Regions from separate parts of the Homo sapiens genome. Here all the other regions are linked to region 2. The links are contacts of gene promoters, found by promoter capture Hi-C in blood cells and fetal thymus (Javierre and others, 2016). All regions are on one chromosome and are shown on one strand. The core of a region is centred on a gene start or on the middle of the fragment in contact, and the rest is flanking DNA. Distances in the headings are between cores, read along the strand shown.

What was found. Contacts are between HindIII fragments. The CHiCAGO score rates a contact against its expected background, and 5 or more counts as called.
Region 1: a contact is called between a fragment that was not itself captured here and the fragment with the promoter of DHRS3 in region 2, in 13 of 17 cell types (total CD4 T cells, endothelial precursors, non-activated CD4 T cells and 10 more). The highest score is 10.4, in total CD4 T cells.
Region 3: a contact is called between a fragment that was not itself captured here and the fragment with the promoter of DHRS3 in region 2, in 16 of 17 cell types (fetal thymus, activated CD4 T cells, total B cells and 13 more). The highest score is 23.0, in fetal thymus.
Region 4: a contact is called between a fragment that was not itself captured here and the fragment with the promoter of DHRS3 in region 2, in 16 of 17 cell types (activated CD4 T cells, non-activated CD4 T cells, naive CD4 T cells and 13 more). The highest score is 22.3, in activated CD4 T cells.
Region 5: a contact is called between a fragment that was not itself captured here and the fragment with the promoter of DHRS3 in region 2, in 1 of 17 cell types (fetal thymus). The highest score is 6.3, in fetal thymus.
Region 6: a fragment that was not itself captured here is called in contact with the fragment with the promoter of DHRS3 in region 2 in 1 of 17 cell types (fetal thymus); the score reaches 5.1 in fetal thymus.
Region 7: a fragment that was not itself captured here is called in contact with the fragment with the promoter of DHRS3 in region 2 in 10 of 17 cell types (fetal thymus, naive B cells, naive CD4 T cells and 7 more); the score reaches 11.1 in fetal thymus.

What each region holds. Positions count from the first base shown.
Region 1 is chr1:12,360,393-12,363,092 of GRCh38, forward strand. It overlaps VPS13D (vacuolar protein sorting 13 homolog D), which reads left to right. Exons shown (of 70, transcript NM_015378.4): 51 at 2,328-2,458; 52 at 2,680-2,700. All of the region lies in intron 1 of LOC124903845 (a long non-coding RNA gene), which reads right to left. Among named protein-coding and RNA genes, the nearest start is that of VPS13D, 130 kb to the left of the region's middle. The HindIII fragment of the contact is 2,176 bases long and covers 245-2,420 here.
Region 2 is chr1:12,616,920-12,619,619 of GRCh38, forward strand. It overlaps DHRS3 (dehydrogenase/reductase 3), which reads right to left and starts at 1,291. Exons shown (of 6, transcript NM_004753.7): 1 at 235-1,291. The coding sequence starts at 429. RefSeq lists enhancers at 916-1,547, 1,548-2,179, 2,180-2,700. The HindIII fragment of the contact is 18,116 bases long and covers 1-2,700 here.
Region 3 is chr1:12,309,019-12,311,718 of GRCh38, forward strand. It overlaps VPS13D (vacuolar protein sorting 13 homolog D), which reads left to right. Exons shown (of 70, transcript NM_015378.4): 28 at 2,436-2,607. Among named protein-coding and RNA genes, the nearest start is that of VPS13D, 80 kb to the left of the region's middle. The HindIII fragment of the contact is 346 bases long and covers 1,092-1,437 here.
Region 4 is chr1:12,336,772-12,339,471 of GRCh38, forward strand. It overlaps VPS13D (vacuolar protein sorting 13 homolog D), which reads left to right. Exons shown (of 70, transcript NM_015378.4): 40 at 1,460-1,534. Among named protein-coding and RNA genes, the nearest start is that of VPS13D, 110 kb to the left of the region's middle. The HindIII fragment of the contact is 2,060 bases long and covers 372-2,431 here.
Region 5 is chr1:12,233,520-12,236,254 of GRCh38, forward strand. It overlaps VPS13D (vacuolar protein sorting 13 homolog D), which reads left to right. Exons shown (of 70, transcript NM_015378.4): 2 at 672-844. The coding sequence starts at 748. Among named protein-coding and RNA genes, the nearest start is that of VPS13D, 4.9 kb to the left of the region's middle. The HindIII fragment of the contact is 296 bases long and covers 1,125-1,420 here.
Region 6 is chr1:12,109,773-12,112,472 of GRCh38, forward strand. It overlaps TNFRSF8 (TNF receptor superfamily member 8), which reads left to right. Exons shown (of 15, transcript NM_001243.5): 6 at 269-432; 7 at 2,126-2,242. Among named protein-coding and RNA genes, the nearest start is that of TNFRSF8, 48 kb to the left of the region's middle. The HindIII fragment of the contact is 4,166 bases long and covers 1-2,700 here.
Region 7 is chr1:12,270,456-12,273,155 of GRCh38, forward strand. VPS13D (vacuolar protein sorting 13 homolog D) reads left to right here. Exons shown (of 70, transcript NM_015378.4): 17 at 539-669; 18 at 2,548-2,680. Among named protein-coding and RNA genes, the nearest start is that of VPS13D, 42 kb to the left of the region's middle. The HindIII fragment of the contact is 1,700 bases long and covers 442-2,141 here.

The sequences.
Region 1 (2,700 bases), core at 83-2,582, 260 kb before region 2:
GGATCTCCAAAAAGAACGATTTTGTGCCTGTTGATCTTATCAACTTATTGATTTATCAGGGGTTTCCCAGGGCAATATAAGATGTGAAGGGGGAAAGAAGCCCACCTTTTTCCAAAGATTGAGTGTCTGTATTGTTCAGAGTACCCTAGACTCTTTTTATAATATTAAATTAGATACATCTTTTGTAGTTAGACTTTTTATTAGATATCACCTAACTATGATAATGTTGATTTCTGACAATGAAAGCTTCTCTGCATGTCACAGAAAGAAGTGATAGGGTATAGTTCCATATCCCAATATTACATAGCATTTCTTAGATACAGAGTTTTAGAGAGATTTTTGTGTGTGACTTTTCTCAGTCTTTCAGGTATTTTCAAGGCTTGTGTTAAAGGAACATCAGCATTTTCAAGCCAGTTTAAGTGAATTACGGCATTTACAGATTGGAATATTTATAATTGGGATTGTGTTGAGAAATCTATGACAGCCGGTTGTCAAATGCTAAGGTGGAGTTTTCTATTTTAATGGTTCTCTTGATACTTGATGACTGCTGAATGGAGTGCAGTCCTTGTATATGTCGCATCACAATACAAGCAAGCCTGATGAGGGTGCTGCTCCGGAGGCTGACTGCCTGGACTTGAATCCCAGTTATGGCACATACTAGCTGCGTGACATAGAGTCAGTTACTTAGCTTTCCATGCCTTCGTTTCCTCATCTATAAAATGGAAATAATTAAAATATCTAACTTAGAAGGTTGTTATGGGGATTCAGTGTAAAGCCTTTGGGGGAGGACCTAGCATGTATTAAGAGACCAGTAATTATTATTATTGTTGTTGTTGTTGTTATTTTTATTATTTCTATGATAAATATTTTTATCAATGGGTGACCAGAGCTCAGCCCAGTACGTTGAATGTCATTGCTGTATTTATTGTCTGAATGAATGAGTGAATAAATTCATCCCACTGAATTTTTTATTTTTATTTTTATTTATTTATTTATTTATTTATTTATTTATTTTTTTTTTGAGACGGAGTCTCGCTCTGTCGCCCAGGCTGGAGTGCAGTGGCGGGATCTCGGCTCACTGCAAGCTCCGCCTCCCGGGTCCACGCCATTCTCCTGCCTCAGCCTCCCAAGTAGCTGGGACTACAGGCGCCCGCCACTACGCCCGGCTAATTTTTTGTATTTTTAGTAGAGACGGGGTTTCACCGTTTTAGCCGGGATGGTCTCGATCTCCTGACCTCGTGATCCGCCCGCCTCGGCCTCCCAAAGTGCTGGGATTACAGGCGTGAGCCACCACGCCCGGCCTGAATTTTTTATTTTTAAAAATTGTTATCAGAGTTTTTAAGATATTTCAGTGCTTTTCTATATTTGGAACCGGCTGTCTTGAGATTTCCTTTGGACTGTTTTCTTATTTTTTCCTAATACATAGTAGGCGCTGAAAACAGTAATTTTATAGATGAATAAATTCTTTTATTTATTTATTTTTTGAGACGGAGTCTCACACTGTCACCCAGACTAGAGTGTAATGGTGCAATCTTGGCTCATTGCAACCTCTGCCTCCCAAGTTCAAGCAATTCTCTTTCTTGCCTCAGCCTCCCGAGTAGCTGAGACTACAGGTGCGTGCCACCATGCCCAGCTAATTTTTGTATTTTTAGTAGAGATGGGGTTTCGCCATGTTGGCCAGGCTGGTCTTGAACTCCTGACCTCAAATGATCCACCCATCTCGGCCTCCCAAAGTGCTGGGATTACAGGCATGAGCCACCACACCCGGCCATGAATAAGTTCTATAGTACTTAGCATTATGTTTGAGCTGGATTCTTGGGCAATGGGCTAAAATAAAATACTGGAGAAGAGTCAGTAAAGTTTAGAACATTACAGAATCCAAGAAAGTAATCTGAAATTTCCACTGTATCTGTAAAAGTGGCAGGTTCTCTAGAAGGAAATTTTGTGTCCCAGGTGTAAGCCAAAAAGTATCATGTGAAACTGTTGTAAGTATTCAGCTTCATAAATGGAAACCTAACATATATGTGACTGGACACCTGTGTATTTTAGTTGCTGTTAAATGGTACACACTGTGTGAAGAAACTAGGAATTAAGGGGATGTTGATCTTGCCTCTGAACCTTTTTAAGGCCTAAATGGGAATAAGGAGTAATAATACTTTGAGTACAATTGCTGTTTTCATTACATTCCTAGAAGGTTCAATATCCTCTGGGTGATACAGTTATTTTCTCAGAGAAACTAAGTAACTGTGAAGGTTATTTATTTTTGTCAGACCAAGAGTTTTCTCTCTTCATGGTTAACTCATAAAAGTGGTTCTTGTTATTTGTAGGTATTGATGTCAAGAAAGGCCGAGGTCGATACATTGATACCTGCATGGTCATCTTTGCCCCCCGTTACCTGTTAGATAATAAATCATCTCACAAGCTTGCATTTGCACAGAGGGAATTTGCCAGGGGACAGGTGAGCAGTTTGCTTTTGAAGGATGAGAGTGCCTATTTAATAGCACGAGTTTTAATGTCATCTTCTGTGAAGACTGTACGTTCTGTGATGCAAGTAACTGCTCTGTGCCTTTGGTACCCAGATAGCTCCTGTTAGAGGGTAAGGCTCAGAGTAGGTACTCAGTAACACTTATTGTCATGAATCGACTTGTTGACTAAAGCCTGTGATCCTATGTGTTTTAGGGAACAGCCAATCCCGAAGGT
Region 2 (2,700 bases), core at 41-2,540:
CAGCCAGCCACCGATCCCAAAGGAGCGGATCAACTCTGAACCTGCCAAAAAAGACAGTCCGGTGCCCGGGAAATTTACAAGGTGAAACCGACTAGCTCAGCACTCGTGGGTGGCGCGGAGAAGTGGGGTGGCCGGCGACTCTCAGCTCCCGGGCGCGGGATCCCGCAGCGGCAGCAGGTGGGCTTACCCCCGCCCCTGCGGCCCCCCACTCCCTGGAGTCGCAGTGCCTGGTACCTTTCTGGCGCCGCGCTCCGCGAACTCGCGGGCGAGCTGACGCCCGATGCCTCTCCCGCCGCCGGTGATGAGGACGTTCTCCCGCGACAGGTCCCGCAGCTTGGCGGGCAGCACCAGTCCGACGGCTGCTTTCACCACCAGATAGATCATCTGTAGAGGGAACATCACCAGCGCGCCCAGCCGTTTCCACACCATCCTCCGCGCCGCGGAGCCGGGCAGGGGGCGAAACTCCCCGGGCCGAGCAATACAGGAATTAAAAAACACCCCGAACAATAAATAGTAAACCGAATAAGGAGGAGAGAGGCGTCCCACCTGGCCACTCTTGAAATCACCTCTTCCCAAATGCAAAGCACCGGGTGAGAAAAAGAAAAAAAAAAAAAAAAAAAAGATAAATTCTCCTCTGGGGGAGAAAAAGCGTCTCCTAAGGTTGGGACGGTAAAAGAGGTGGAGGGGGAAGCCGGAGGTGGAAAGTTCTAACAAGAAGTTTCTTGCCCCAGCAGCCGTTTCGGCTGGGGAATTCTCAGGTAATGTTTACAGACTGACAGAGGAGTTTAGGGAGGGGAAGAAAAAAAAAAAAAGGCACCAACCACACGCGCGCACCCTGCCTCGGTCCCGCGGTTTCAAAGTGCAAGATTAAAAAAAAAAAAAAAAAAAAAAAAAAAGCTGATTCCAAATTGTAGCGCCCCCACCCCCACCCCGTCTCCAGAAAAAAAAAAAAAAAAAAAGTGGGGGGAAAAAGTGCTTGGAGCTCCCAATTTCAGCCCGCGAAAGTCTCCCGACTCATTGCTATTCTTGGGCTCAGGAAATTGCTTAAACGCGATCTGATTGCCAGCAACGTGCAGGAGAAGTGGGGGGTCCGGGTGTCAGTTTCTTTACGTGCAGCGCTCGCCCTCGCGCGCGCTCGCTCGCTCCGGCTCCCTCCCTCCCTCTCTGTTCCAGCAGAGGCTGGGAGTTGCCGCTCGATCCAGCTCCCCTTCTCTCCCTTTTTAGCATTTATTGCCTTCTTTTTGTCCTTTCCAACTTGGAGAGGGTCCGGGTGTGGAGCGCGCGTGGATCGGACGCCTTGGTCTGCGCGGCCCTATTCATTCGCTCCCCGGGCAGCCGCGTCGCGGAGAGGGCGGCCCCTTTTTCCCCCATTTTTTCAATACCCCATTAAGTCTGATTGACAGTTAAAGTTGTTGGGAGGCTTCACTACCGTTCCTCTGAGTGGCTGCTGCGGCCTCCCCTCCCCCTGCGCCGTCGCGGGGAGCGCGCATAAGGCGCGCACTCGGGCTCGCCGGGACTCGCGCTCTCCCGGGACTGGCTCCCCTCTCTGCAAGCCGGGACTTGCCGCCGGTGTCCCTGAGGGCTCGCAGCTGTAACTCGAACACGCTGGAACCGACTCCGGCGAGCCGGCTGCCTTCTCGAGACGTTCCTCCTTGCCCGGGCCGCCCGCGGGCCAGGTGATCACCCCGAGTGTGGAGCAGGCCCGGGGGAGCTTGCGTATGCCTTGATCCAACCAGGTCACCCAGGGTTTTATTTCAGGTCATTTGGTCATCCTCGGCCTCCAGGTAGGATCAGGAAGCCACTCCTCACCTTTGCCCGGACCTCTTCTGTGTTCACGTAGAGTGGACTTTTAAAAGCCTGACCCAAGTGCCTCACGATGCTTAGGGGGAAGCCGCTGGGGAGCAGGACTTTGCTTTGAGGGGAGGGAGTAGTCAAGGTAAAGGAACCTCTGCTCCGAGTGCCAATAAAATCCCCACAAGATTAGCTGGGAGCATATTTATTGCTCATCTGAGCTAGAATTACCTTGACTGACACCAATTTCCTTAATAACAAAAGCCTGTAAACAAAACGTCCTATTCGTGCGCCCCTGTGCTGTGCAGCCAGCGTCTCCTGTCCTTGGGTCTCCCTGGACTGCCCTGGCGGGGCACCCACCTTCTAACCTCCTGCCCTTCCCGACCGGAATGTCTCCCCTGCTGGAGGGTGGGACCGAGCTATTTAGAGTTGTCTGTTGCAGGAAGTCTGGGAGGTGAGTCACTAAAAAGCAGCCCCAGTTCAAAGTGCTGATGGGACTTGCCTCCCGCCCCCCTGCACGTTCCCGGGGCCGGAGGAGCGAGAGCGAAGCAGGGAGCTGCCCTGTAATCTGGGGCAGCCGTTTCCAGCCCGCGACTTGTTCAGACGGCGATTCCTGGGCCTCACCCCCAGAGATTCTGATTCAGCAGGGCTGGGTGCGCTGGGATCGGTACTTTCAATGCTCCGCCTGGTGAGAAAGTCACTTCGAAAAACGCTGATCTGCGGGGAGGGGAGGCTGGGATTACCTCGTCACCTGCAAAGACCTAGTTCTGGGGAGAGGTTCTGCAGGGGAGGATCTTCCTTCTGGGTGAAAAGCCACTGGAAGAGCAAAAGGCAGGAGAGGCTTAGGATGAGCAACTGTCCTGCACTGAGGGCCTATATTCTGACACAGTCCTTCCCCTGACCTTGCAA
Region 3 (2,700 bases), core at 15-2,514, 310 kb before region 2:
TGGAAGAACTAGTTATTCACTTATTTCTTCGTCTATTTAACAAATGTTTATTGAGTCCCTACTATGTGCTGAACATGAGGGCTACTGTGATGAAAGAGAAAACTAATTCCTTTGAAGGAACTTATGTTTTGTTGAGGGATACAGGTAGTTAAGCACATGATTCTAATTTAATGTTTGATTTGATCTTTTTTTTCTTTTTTTTTTTTTTTTTGAGATGGAGTCTCACTCTGTCACCAGGCTGGAGTATAGTGGCGAGATCTCAGCTCACTGCAACCTCCACCTCCCGGGTTCAAGCGATTCTCCTTCCTCAGCCTCCCAAGTAGCTGAGATTACAGGCGCATGCCACCACACCCAGCTAATTTTTGTGTTTTTAGTAGAGATGGGGTTTCACCATGTTGGCCAGGATGGTCTCGATCTCTTGACCTCGTGATCCACCTGCCTTGGCATGCCCGCCTTGGCATATGGACATGGTGGCTCATGCCTGTAATCCCAGCACTTTGGGAGGTCGAGGCGGCAGATCACAAGTTCAGGAGTTCAAGACCAGCCTGGCCAACATGGTGAAACCCCGTCTCTACTAAAAAAAAAATACAAAAATTAGCCAGGCATGGTGGCGTGTGCCTGTAATCCCAGCTACCGGGAAGGCTGAGGCAGGAGAATTGATTATACCAGGGAGGTGGAGGTTGCAGTGAGCCTAGATTGAGCCGCTGCACTTCAGCCTGGGTGACAGAGCAAGACTCAGTCTCAAAAAAAAAAAAAAAAAGAAAGAAAGAAAAACAGGTTTATTATTTGTATAGAGCATGATTTGAATCTCTTTTTGGCCACTCCCTTCACAGTTCTTGGTTTGGGCAAGTCATTTAATGTCACTTTTTTAGTTTCTTTCTGGATTAATGATACAACTTAGCTGTTCTCACTGGGATGTTTGTGTTTCAGTCTTACGTGTTATTCAAGTGCTCCCTGGCTGGTGTTCAGTTATGGTTGGCATGGGCTATATTTGGTTTTACTGGCTAAGCAGTCTTAAGAGGAGCTTCGTTATTTAGAAATTGAACACTTTGTTTTCTTTTCAAGCAATGCTTTCCAAAAAACAAAAAAAAAGCTTTCCTATTCAGCTTATCTAAACTTTCCCCACTCCCATCAGTGTTTCTGTGCAGATAATTGTATTCTGTTAGGCCTGATAGAAGGTGATGCTGAATGCAAGGTGTCCTGTCAGTCTCACACTGCACACACAGCAACCCGAGATGGCACTTGGTCAGCCGTCTCTGTTTTTCTTTGTTATTGCATCATTGTCTTTTAAAACTCTGTTGTATGTCGGCTTTTCTCTGCAGACAAAATAACTTTTCTTATATACCTCTGCCATTTCAAACACTAGCCCTCTCTATACTTAGAGCATAGTGTCTGTAGGATTCACAATGCCCAGTTCACCCATGGGAGGTTAGAGAAAGCTTTTTAGTATTGAGATGAGGTACAGATGTGTGCCCCTCCCCCTCTTCAACTTTACTTCTGTCCATCCCAGCTGAGATGACGAACCTATTCAGAGTTTATCCTCATGTCCCATCTGGGCTCAGTATGAAACACTGGTGTTTGCCTTTAGTTACCACTAAATCCAAAGAGTTAAATAAAGATCTTGGCATCTTTTCTTTATTGCTTTCCCAAGTGTAATATTTAAGCTCTTTGTGAGTCTCATGAGGTTTTCCTTATTAATAGATTAGTTACCTCATACTAGGTTTAAGGATTTCCCTCCCTCCATTTCTTGCTCCTTCCTTCCTTCCTTCCTTCCTTCCCTCCCTCCCTCCCTCCCTCCCTCCTTCCCTCCTTCCTTCCTTCCCTCCTTCCCTCCTTCCTTCCTTCCCTCCTTCCCTCCTTCCCTCCTTCCCTCCTTCCCTCCTTCCCTCCTTCCCTCCCTCTCTCCCTCTCTCCCTCCCACAGGGTCTCACTCTGTCACACAGGCTGGAATACAGTGGCACGATCACAGCTTACTGCACCCTTGACTTCCTGGGCTCAAGTGAACCCCCACCTCAGCCTCCTGAGTAGCTGGGACCACAAGTGCACACCACCATGCCCAGTTAATTTTTGCATTTTTTGTAGAGATGGGGTTTCACTATGTTGTCCAGGCTGGTCTCGAACTCCTGGGCTCAAGTGATCCTCCCACCTCAGCCTCCCAAAGTGCTGGGATTATAGGTGTGAGCCACCACACCTGGCCTGGTTTGAGGATTTTCTAAATGTAAATTTTGGGAGAAAAGGGGCTTTTTGTAGTTGAAGCATGACAGTCATATTAACTTGCTTCATTTGGAGCTACATGAAATTTTTGTCATTGGAAGTAGGAATTACCTACTTGATAATGTAGGTGAGTACATTTTAGCCCCGTTGTTTGGGCGTGAGCTATGTCAGTGTTAAGTTAGTGACTTGTCTGTGTAAGTGATCTTTTTTCTTTTTCATAGAGAAATAAGTCATACTGTGCCAGACATATCTATCCATGGCAATCTCTCCTCAGTCCACTGCTCTCTGGATCTGTATAAATACAAGCTGATCCGCGGCTTATTAGAGAACAACCTGGGAGAACCCATAGAGGAATTTATGCGGCCTTATGATTTACAAGATCCAAGAATTCATGTGAGTGAGACCTTATGTTCTTCTGTCACTCTCATAGTCTCAGCTGACGGTCACCCTGTGTATCTATTCCTCAAACTCACTTGGAGAAAGAAG
Region 4 (2,700 bases), core at 152-2,651, 280 kb before region 2:
ATTACTTAGGAGCCAGGGCTTTTCAGATATTGTCAGCTTTGATTTTAGCTCCTCCTCCAACCTTCCCAATTTGTGTGTCAAGAAAATGTAACATAGTCTACCCAGAAGACTCTAAATAATCTTTGTAATATGTCCAAGAGAGTGTGTTTCTAAAACATTATTCATGCAGGGGCATCTTCAATTCAGAGTCAAACTCTAGCAAGGCCTGGTCTGCAAGATTCTGATGAAAGATTTTCTTGTCCCTCTCTTTCTTCTTTCCTTCTTCCCTCCCTGCCTCCCTTTCTTCCTTCCTTTTTAAAATTTTTGTCCCTCTCTCTTTCTCTATAGTTAAAAGGCTTCCTCATCTATATTAAATGCTGGTGCTGAGTTAAAGCTTGATTTTTATTTATTTAAAGATTTTTATGATTACTTAGGCTTATAAAAGTGTAATCTATCTTTTTAATAAGACATAACTTGAATATGCATAAATTTCCAAACCTCTTTTCTTATTGGAAATTCCTGGATGGTAGTACAGTACATTCCAGGATTGTATTCTTTTAGCAGGCCTACTAAAATGATCATTGGGAATTTATTTTGAAAGTGAGTAGGGTTCAACCTTGTTGAACTAATCATAAACTTTCAGGTCTTATTCAAGAATAGTAAGTCATATTCCTACAAAAGTTATGCTTTTTATTCAGACTGGCCTTAAAACAAGCTCTTGGGAATAGCCCTTAACATGAAATTTAGCCTAAGGGACCTGCTGCTTTCTCACTGTTTCTTTATCAGGGGAAAGAAAATACCAGCCTCCTTTTGACAAAATTGTTGGCTTTGTTCAGTCAGGGCTGAGATTTTGCAGGTAAACCTGGGCGGTGTGGCACTTCATTGAATTTATTAGTTTTGTATTCCAAGGACATTTTATGAAAATATCAAATATTCTGAAAACTTCCATGCTTGATTTAGAATTTAAATAAACACTATGAGACAACTCCTTGGTAGAGATTGTTTAAATTTGGAACACATACTGACTCTTCCCCTGAATTTTTGAGATCCCCTGAGACTGGCATTTTACTTCTGTGTTTTACCAGTTGGAATGGAGCAACCTTCACTAAAATCTGTACTGATGGATTTTTGTAACTTTTTAATGCCATTTAAGAACATAACACCTTTAAATTAAAAATCTTCAAAAGGCTCGTCATTCTGTTCAAGAGAAGGTTCAATACATATTCTTCTAATTCAGGAAAAAAAAAAAAAAAGCATGTTACTTTGATCCAGCCTCCACAATAAAAACTAGCATAAAAATGTGTTCACTTTGTCAAGTACATTCGTAGTGCTTAGTAATCACTGATGGGAATGACTCTGTACTTGCATGATGCTTGCTATTTTTGTAATGTTCTCTATTTGTGCTTATCGTTTGGAAGCAAGTCTTCTTATTTCACTGTATTTATTCTTAGCCTCTAACTTTGTCTCTCCTGTCTACCAGGCCTCCCCCTTGTCTACCTTAGAACTAGGAGTACAGCCAGTCTGACTAACCTAGAGCACCAGATCTATGCTAGAGGTACAGTATAGCCAAGCGAGGGCTTGCTTTATTTTCCTGTTTTAAGAACTTCCTTGTACATCAATTTTTTTTTTAATGAGTGGGAGTTGAATTGGGGGTATTCCATGTCGTGAGTACTTTAGTAATAGGAAAGAACATTTCCAACTGATGAACAGAGTGGTGCATATTATCAGCTGATTCTTATATTGTTTCCCTTCCATCTCCCTTAACTTTGGTGGAAATGGAATAAACTCCACAGTGTATGATGCAGAAATATGTTAATACAATGTCAGTTAGAGGTGATTTCTCATATTGAAGAGCAAGTGGATTGAGGAGCACCATGCTTCATCAAGCAGTGGTGCCACAAGTCTTAAGTTTATAAAATACCCACTGAAAATTCTCATGGGAAGGCATGGGGCTCTGCAACAGGCACTATAATAATAGGGATAGCGGAAAAAAAATTCTCAGTAAATAATTGCTTAGACACAAACCTTAATTTCTTTGGATGTCAGTTTTTGTGTTTAGGAGATAAAAAAGAAAATTTTCTTTATTTCTATCTCTGATCTTTGAAAGTTTCTTGAGAAATTCACTGGTAAGTGAATGTGGTAGAAAACACCATAATCATTGAGGAATTGGAGTCCCAAGATGTTCAGTTTTTGTTTTAGGGAGTGCAGTTTAATCTGAATGATTTATGTGTGTACATGGCAAATTCCAGATTATTCGTCATGATTTTTTTAAATAGAAAGAGACCACAGGAACTCCCTCTACCAGGAATATAGAACAGGGATGTTAATACTCAGGGTACATTGCCCTGGGTTTTTTTTTTCTGGACAATTTTACCAGGGTGGATGTTTGAGGGAGGGCTCACAAAGAAAGCCCAGAGCTGAATCTTAATTTATTTGTGTATTCCTGCTTCTAAGCTTTCTATATGTTACTTAATCTTTCAGGCTTAGCCAAGCATTATTCCTATTTAGCTGATAAGGACAGTGAGGTTCAGAGACACTAGGTGATTTGCCTTTATTCACTTGACCTCCTAGTAGCAAACCTAGTATTTTAATCTGCTTCTTATGATTTACAAACCAGGTCCTTTCTGATGGACTGAGCTGCTTACATAGCATGACAACCTACACTGTTTATAATGGCAAAATTACTGTGTGAAACAAGTCCGAAGGGGTAGAAATTTCCTT
Region 5 (2,735 bases), core at 23-2,522, 380 kb before region 2:
TACTAAATTATGCCCATAGGAGAACCTCTGATCACGGCAGTCTAATCCCAAGGTAAATCAACATAAGCAAGCAATGGACAGTTACACTGAAAAGATAGACAGCTTTGAATTGTAGGTAATTTTTGGTAAATTTAAGAGTGACTATTCCCTGAAGCAGCATCAGAATGTAGGTGTTTTGGTTTGGCCCTCCAGTTACTGATGGGGACATCTTACAGAGCTTCTTGCCTCATCTTTTAAAACATCTGCAGCCGGGCGCAGTGGCTCATGCCTGTAATCCCAGCACTTTGGGTGGCTGAGGCGGGTGGATCACCTGAGGTCAGGAGTTTGGGACAGGCTGGTCAACATGGTGAAACCCCATCTCTACTAAAAATACAAAAAATCAGCTGGGTGTGGTGGTGGGCAGCTGTCATCCCAGCTACTTGGGAGGCTGAGGCAGGAGAATCGCTTGAACCCGGGAGGCAGAGATTGCAGTGAGCCGAGATTGTGCCACTGCACCCCAGCCTGGGTGACGAGAGCGAAACTGTCTCAAAACAAAAACAAAAACACAAACAAACAAAACCCAACAAAACATCTGTGCTTTGCATTCATCTACCTTCAGGCAGGTAGAGGAGGAAATTGGCTTAGAAAATCATCCTGTTTTTATGTTGATTTTCATTATTTTCCTTTCATAGATTTTTCTGTGACCATGAAAGAGAGAAATAAAGAATGATCCATGATTTCTAAACACCTTTTCCTGAGGATATAGTCATGTTGGAAGGCCTTGTAGCCTGGGTTCTCAATACCTATTTGGGAAAATATGTCAATAACCTGAACACTGACCAGCTCTCAGTTGCACTTCTCAAAGGTGAGTATTTCTCTGGGTGAGATACAGCTTTATAGGTGGCGTTTCTATTTTTGTATTTTTTTTGTTGTCCTGAGAATCATAAAACCTAATGCCCAGATGGCTTTGTACTAAATGTATGTAAAAAGGTCCCATATCATCCTGATGATTTTTCCAGAGTAACTTAAGTTTATAGCTATATTGTTGTAGATTTTAAGGAACTATTAAATATTAAAAAACAAAAACAAAATAAGCTACACTACTGGTGACTGTGCTTAGTCCCAGTTAACTTTTAGCTTTATGAAGCTTTATGGAGGCAGCCACAATGTACCGACAGTGGCATTGACTTTGGCTTCAAATACTGTTTTGTCACTTATTAGCTATGTGAACAATAGCTCATATTGAAATTCCAAGCCTCAGTTTCTTAGACAGAGATAATATACCTCCAGAGGGTTGCTTTAAGGATCAACTGGAATAACATTTAAAGCCCCTAGCCTGCTGGCATATAGTAAGCACTCAATAAAAGTTTTAAAATTGATTATTGTGAGGTGTTCAACAGAATTTCTGAGGTTTTGACTTGCTTAGTAGTAGAGTACCTGAAGCTTCAGACATTTTACCCTTTACAGGCCTAGACTTGGTAAATGCAGTCCCTGATTTGGCATGGGAATTCGAAAACTGCATTTTCTCCCTTTCCTTGTTTTAATTTAAATTCTCTTTGCTCAGCTCAAAATGGAGCTTTTTAACATACGTAGGGAAGAGAAGAAAGTCAGTTTGCCACGTGTGTAAAATCATAGGAAATGGGAAGGAGACTTCAAATACAGTGAAACCTCACCTTTGTGGATGTGAGTTTTGGTAAGTGGACCAGAGCAGGTTAGAGAGAACAGTGACACAGCTGTTTGCGTAGTCTGAGAATAGAGTACCGGTGGTTCACATGTTCCATTAAATGTGTTGCTTTCCGGCCAGGCGCGGTGGCTCATGCCTGTAATCCCAGTACTTTGGGAAGCTAAGGCAGGCGGATCACGAGGTCAGGAGTTTGAGACCAGCCTGGCCAACATGGTGAAACCTGTCTCTACTAAAAATACAAAAATTAGCTGGGTGTGGTGGCGGGTGCCTGTAATCCCACTACTCGGGAGGCTGAGGCAGGAGAATCGCTTGAAACCAGAAGGCGGAGGTTGCAGTGAGCCGAGGTCACACCACTGCACTCCAGCCTGGGCAACAAGAGTGAAACTCCATCGCAAAAAATAAAAAATAAAAAAAAAGTGTTGCTTTTCATGTTTTTCTGACCAAATGATTGTGGCAGCGCTAGGCCATGGGCAGAGCCGTCATGGTCACGCCTCCCCACTCTCTTCCTTTCCTTTCCTATTCTCCTGGTTTTCCTCTTGTCCTGAAACGGGAGCTAAGTGGAAAGTGCGAGTGAGCAGTCTGTCAGGGAAGAGGATGCATTCAAAGTGCAATAGTAGTGTCAAGTTCACCTCTCTGGTCTCTTATTGAAGTTCTCAGACCCACTGTGAAGCTAACTACGTTGTATGACGTATAGATAACAGGGCCTAGAAAGAGAGCTGCAGACCACGACCCTGCTAATCAAAGAGCTGGTTCTGTCAGGAATCATGTGGCAAGAGCATTTGCCAAAGAAATGAGTAAATAGAAATGGATATCTGATGTGTTACAGAGTCGTACTAACATTTCTCAGCAGTTTTAGAATGTATCTTGTAACAACTGTGTTTATCTGGTACTTTAAACTGCTTTTCTGCCCTTATTTCCTTTCTAAAAACATTATTCTTTATGGCTTTTAATGAACCTGTGGAACTTGAAGAATGCTTCTCCGCAGGGTAGAACAATGCTTTTTCTTTTGTAACTGGTGTTAGTATGGTACCCAATGCTTATGGATCCAAAGCACATCACAGAGCGTGGCCAG
Region 6 (2,700 bases), core at 84-2,583, 510 kb before region 2:
CATGGTGTCAGCACTTTGGGGTGCCTCTCTGCCAAGCCCCTCAGATCATTTGAGGCCCTAGGGTGTGCCCAGCCCTGCCCTGAGCACATGGGAGACCCACAGGGCTTAGAAAACACAGGCCTTGCTCCCAGGAGCTTACAGTGGGCCCGCCAGAGGCAGTGGGCCAAGGGCCTGGGACCCCATCTCTGTGGAAACTGTTACTCGTGAGCACAGGCCTCCCTTGCCCCATTGGCAGAATTATCAGTCCCATCTCTGGCTTCTTCCCCAGTGGCACCATCCCCCAGGCCAAGCCCACCCCGGTGTCCCCAGCAACCTCCAGTGCCAGCACCATGCCTGTAAGAGGGGGCACCCGCCTCGCCCAGGAAGCTGCTTCTAAACTGACGAGGGCTCCCGACTCTCCCTCCTCTGTGGGAAGGCCTAGTTCAGATCCAGGTAATTTCCCCATGAAGCTGTGGGTCGTCTCCCTGGGGTGCTCGATTGGTGGATGGCCCATGAGTGGGGGTGTTTGGAGCAGGCGGGCAGTGATCTGTGGTCTTTTCCTGGTGGGGAGAGAAGACGGTGGTAAGGTATGATCTAGGGCTGAAAGCATTGAGGGGCAGAGGTAGACACCAGAGGGCTCATTCATTTGCCAGCAGTGCAGAGGGCCTGCCTTGTGCCGGACACCCGTGCCCCATCTCTCCCTCTATTTCCCTCTACGTTGGTTTGTCAGAGGGAAATGGGTCCCACTCTGCTGTTGTGACACTTGCGACTCAGCTGGCCAGCCTCTGCACGTGTCCATCTGATGCCCTCCTGGTCTCCATGGCGAAGGGTCGACCCTCAGTCATTTTTCTTTTTCTTTTTTTTGAGACGGAGTTTCGCTCATGTTGCCCAGGCTGGAGTGCAGTGGCGCAATCTCGGCTCACTGCCACCTCCACCTCCTGGGTTCAAGCGATTCTCCTGCCTCAGCCTCCTGAGTAGCTGGGATTACAGGTGCCCACCACCACGCCTGGCTAACTTTGTATTTTTAGTAGAGATGGGATTTCACCATGTTGGTCAGGCTGGTCTCGAACTCCCGACCTCAGGTGATCCGCCCACCTCGGCCTCCCAAAGTGCTGGGAGGATTACAGGCGTGAGCCACCGCGCCCAACCTAGTCCCATTTTATTACTGAATAGCCCTCCATGGCGTAGATATGCCGAGCTCTGTTTATCCAGTTTTTGAATATTTGGGTTGTTTCTGCCTTTTGACTATAATGAAGAAAGAAAAATACATCTTTGCGTGTATGTGCTTTCCTTTCTCTTGGGTTGGTTTTGTAAAAAAAATGGATTTGTGGGACTTCTAACAATTTTGGGTTGGAGCTCTTTTCCTATAGTTGTACCTTCTCCCGCTCCATGGCTTTGCTTATTCTCTCTATGATGTCTTTTGTTTGTTTGTTTGTGGTTTGTTTTTTTGAGGTGAGTCTTGCTCTGTCGCCCAGACTGGAGTGCAGTGGCGTGATCTCGGCTCACTGCAACCTCCGCCTCCTGGGTTCAAGCAATTCTCCTGCCTCAGCCTCCCGAGTAGCTGGGATTACAGGCGCCTGCCACCACATTTGGCTACTTTTCTTTTTTTTAGTAGAGACGGGGTTTCACCATGTTGGCCAGGCTGGTCACAAACTCCTGGCCTCAAGTAATCCACCCGCCTCAGCCTCCCAAAGTGCTGGGATTACAGACGTGAGCCACCGCGCCCGGCCCACACCAGTCTTTAAAAGAGGGAGGCAGGAGGCACCCAGCCCCTCCCTGCCCAATACCATTCTGAACAGGAGTTACGCTAGTGTGCTGAGCTCTCAGGGAAGCTGTTCCCAAAGTTTTGAGCAGGGGAGTGACAGAGCCATGAGACAGGGTTGGGGGAAGCTGTGGCATGGTGGCCTCAGGAGGAACAGTGGGCAGGGGCTGGTTGGGGGGCAATGAGTACCCTCCTCTCGTGTGGAATGCACGCAGCATTCCTGTCCTCTCTGAGCCTCAGGACTCCCTCTGAAAGGCTGGACTGAGCTGACATGCGGAGTTTGGGAGCTGGCCACGGTGAGGGATGGGGGGCTTCAGGGTTGGGTGGGGAGTGAGGCCTTTGCCAAGGCGGCCTGGCCTGCAGCTTCTCTGCTTCTTTCCCCAGGTCTGTCCCCAACACAGCCATGCCCAGAGGGGTCTGGTGATTGCAGAAAGCAGTGTGAGCCCGACTACTACCTGGACGAGGCCGGCCGCTGCACGGCCTGCGTGAGCTGTTCTCGAGGTAAGGGCCTCGTCCCTCCCCGGGCCTCAGTTTACCTCTCTGCATTTTTGAACCGTGAACTTCCAGTAACTACTCCCCCTTATGTTTGTGGGTTTTTGATGGGGGTCGCCTCTTTTCAGAGGGCTTCCATTGGCATATTATTTCCTTCCAGGAAGCGTTTGTGAATCACCCACCTGTTCCAAACTCGGCTCATCAATGTTTGTAACTACTCTGTGATTCAAGCATTGTGATCATTCCCCTTTTACAGAGGAGGAAACGGAGGCTTTGGGAAGTCAGGGAACTTCCAAGGGCTGTGGGCTGGAGTTTGAACCCAGACAGGTGCCACCAGGTTCCAGGTTCTCGTCCACTCCACTCGCTGCCCCTATGAGCCACTTATTCTTTTTTTTTTTTTCCCAGACAGGGTCTCACTCCTTCACCCAAGCTGCAGTACGGTGGTGGGATCATAGCTCCCTGCAGCT
Region 7 (2,700 bases), core at 42-2,541, 350 kb before region 2:
AGAAGAAGAAGAGAAAAAAAAGAATATAGAAGGCATTTCCTTTGAAATTCCATTTTCTCTTTCAGTGCTTTTTAAGAATTTTGAAATATAGTAGTTTGGAATCTTTCAGAAAATGGCTTAAGAAATTCTAGTAACTTAGGTACACTTCTCTCACTTGCCTCCTCTCCCCCCATGGCTGTCCATTCACTTACGCTTTTTTGTCTCATTCCTGTTACCCTGTATTATGCCAGGTCATACTGGAGTAAGAAACTGTTGTTACTGATTTGTTTTTTTCCTTGAGACAGGGTCTTGCTCTGTCACCCCAGGCTAGAGTGCAGTGGCGTGATCACGGCTCACTGCAGCCTCAGTCTCCTGGGCTCAGGCATCCTCCTGCCTTGGCCTCCCAAAGTGCTGGGATTACGAGTGTGAGCCACCATGCCCAGCCTGATTTTTTTTTTTTTAAGCTTTGATGGACATTCTTGGTGAGAATTGATGTAGCACTTTTGTTCACCCAGCCGTGTGAAAATTCTGACTCTGCTGTGTATTTCCAACCTTGCAGGTTTTGGTTATCAGTCTGAACTTGAGCTGAGAGTGGCTGAAGCTGCCCGAAGACAATATAACAAGCTGAAGATGCAGACCAAGGCAGAAATCCGGCAAACTCTTGATCGTTTGCTAGTGGGTGATTTCATTGTAAGTGGGCATCCATAAACACTCTTTGGGGATTGGGGAAGGGGCAGGAATTCTTTCCGTCAAGTCACTACTTACTGTAGATAGGCTTACTTATATCAATTATGCTGACTGAGTAAACTGAAAATATTAAATCCTTATCAGCTAGCATAGAATAGAATCTTGTGTCTTTTATAGTCAGGGTTTAGCTAATAAAATGAATGACTGTGACTAGATTCTGTGTCTCCTTGCACCAGGATGAGGTTACTTTCAAGACTCATCTTTGTGCTGGGTGCTATGGCTCACACCTGTAATCCCAGCACTTTGGGAGGCTGAGGTGGGCAGATCACTTGAGGTCAGGAGTTCGAGACCAGCCTGGCCAACATGGTGAAACCCCATCTCTACTAAAAATACAAGAATTAGCTGGGCATGGTGGTGGGTCCCTGTAATCCCAGCTGCTCAGGAGGCGGAGGCAGGAGAATCACTTGAACCTGGGAGGCGGAGGTTGCAGTGAGTCGAGATTGCACCACTGCACTCCAGCCTGGGCAACAGAGTGAGACTGTCTCAAAAAGAAGAAGAAAAAAAAAAGACTCGTGTTTGTTCCATTTTCCAGACCTGATACTTTGTGCATGTTTCATGTGAGAGTTTCTCTTTTTTGCTTACTGTTACCAGAAGAGACAACTGGAATGATGCCCCAGCTTCTATTCTAGGGTGTGATGATTAGGTACTTTGTGATGCCAAATGGCCAGCTGCCATGAGGATGCCATAGATAGGGAGGGCCAAGAGACATCTTCACAGTCCAGTAGGTAGGCTGGGCAAGGTGGCCCATGCCTATAATCCTGGCACTGGGGGAAGCGGAGGTGGGATGATCGTTTGAGCTCAGGAGTTCGAGACCAGCCTGGGCAACATAGTGAGACCTTGTCTCTACAAAAAATAAAAAAATTAGCTGGGCCTGGTAGCACATACCTGTAGTCCCAGCTGTTCAGGAGGCTGAGGCGGGAGGATTGCTTGAGCCCAGGAATTGGAGGGTGCAGTGAGCTATGATCTGCCCTCTAGCCTGGGTGACAGAGTGAGACCTTGTCTCAAGAAATCAAAATAGTCCAGTAAAGCACAGTTTCTCAGGTGACATGGAGGTGCACTGCTACAATACAGCAGCAGGTGGCACAGTGAGAAAAAGTGTGGCTTCTTTTGGACAGTGCAGAGTAAGTTATAGGTGTCAGAGAAGCAGAAATGATCCAAGTAAAATGTGGTGTGTAGTATGGGATGGAGAATTAGTCCTGTTTTTTGTTTTGGTGTGTGTGTGTGTGTGTGTGTGTGTGTGTGTGTGTGTTTCTACATAAAGTATGACAATTAGTATTCTTGTAAACAAAAGAGGTTTCTTTTTGGTAATGTAAATTAGCTTTTGCCACATACATACAGTTGAGGCTGATTTTGGTTGGAGGGAAGAACAATGAACAAATCATGAATTGGTGTGTTATTTATATTTCAAATGTCAAAGCTTATGTTTCTCACTAAGATATTTTGGCATGGAAGTTCATGGTTACCAATGCCCCTGAATAAGTAAAAATGTTTAGAATTCTATGTTTATTTGAATTCTATAATTTCTATAATCCTTTAAAGTATTAAACCCTGTAAATTAGAAACAAAATCTTTCTTAAGTACAGACTCTCCCCTATTTAGTTATTTGCTATTTTTTTTCTCCCCTGTTCAGATACTTGTCTGTGGTAATTTCTCAGATCCTCAAGCATTTACATCTACTTTTGTCTTAGACTTTTTGCTGTAATACATTAGATCACTGAGTCACTCCATAATCCTAGCTGCAGCTTCCAGAAATGCTTGAGCACCATGGATAAAGCTGTTGGGTTTCGGCAGTTATGGTTAATGACTGTTTTATTTGTACAGGAGGAGAGTAAACGATGGACCGTGCGGCTGGATATTTCTGCCCCTCAGGTGATATTTCCTGATGATTTCAAATTCAAGAATCCTGTGTTAGTTGTCGTGGATCTAGGAAGAATGCTTTTGACGAACACCCAAGGTATAGTGTGAGTGGGAAAT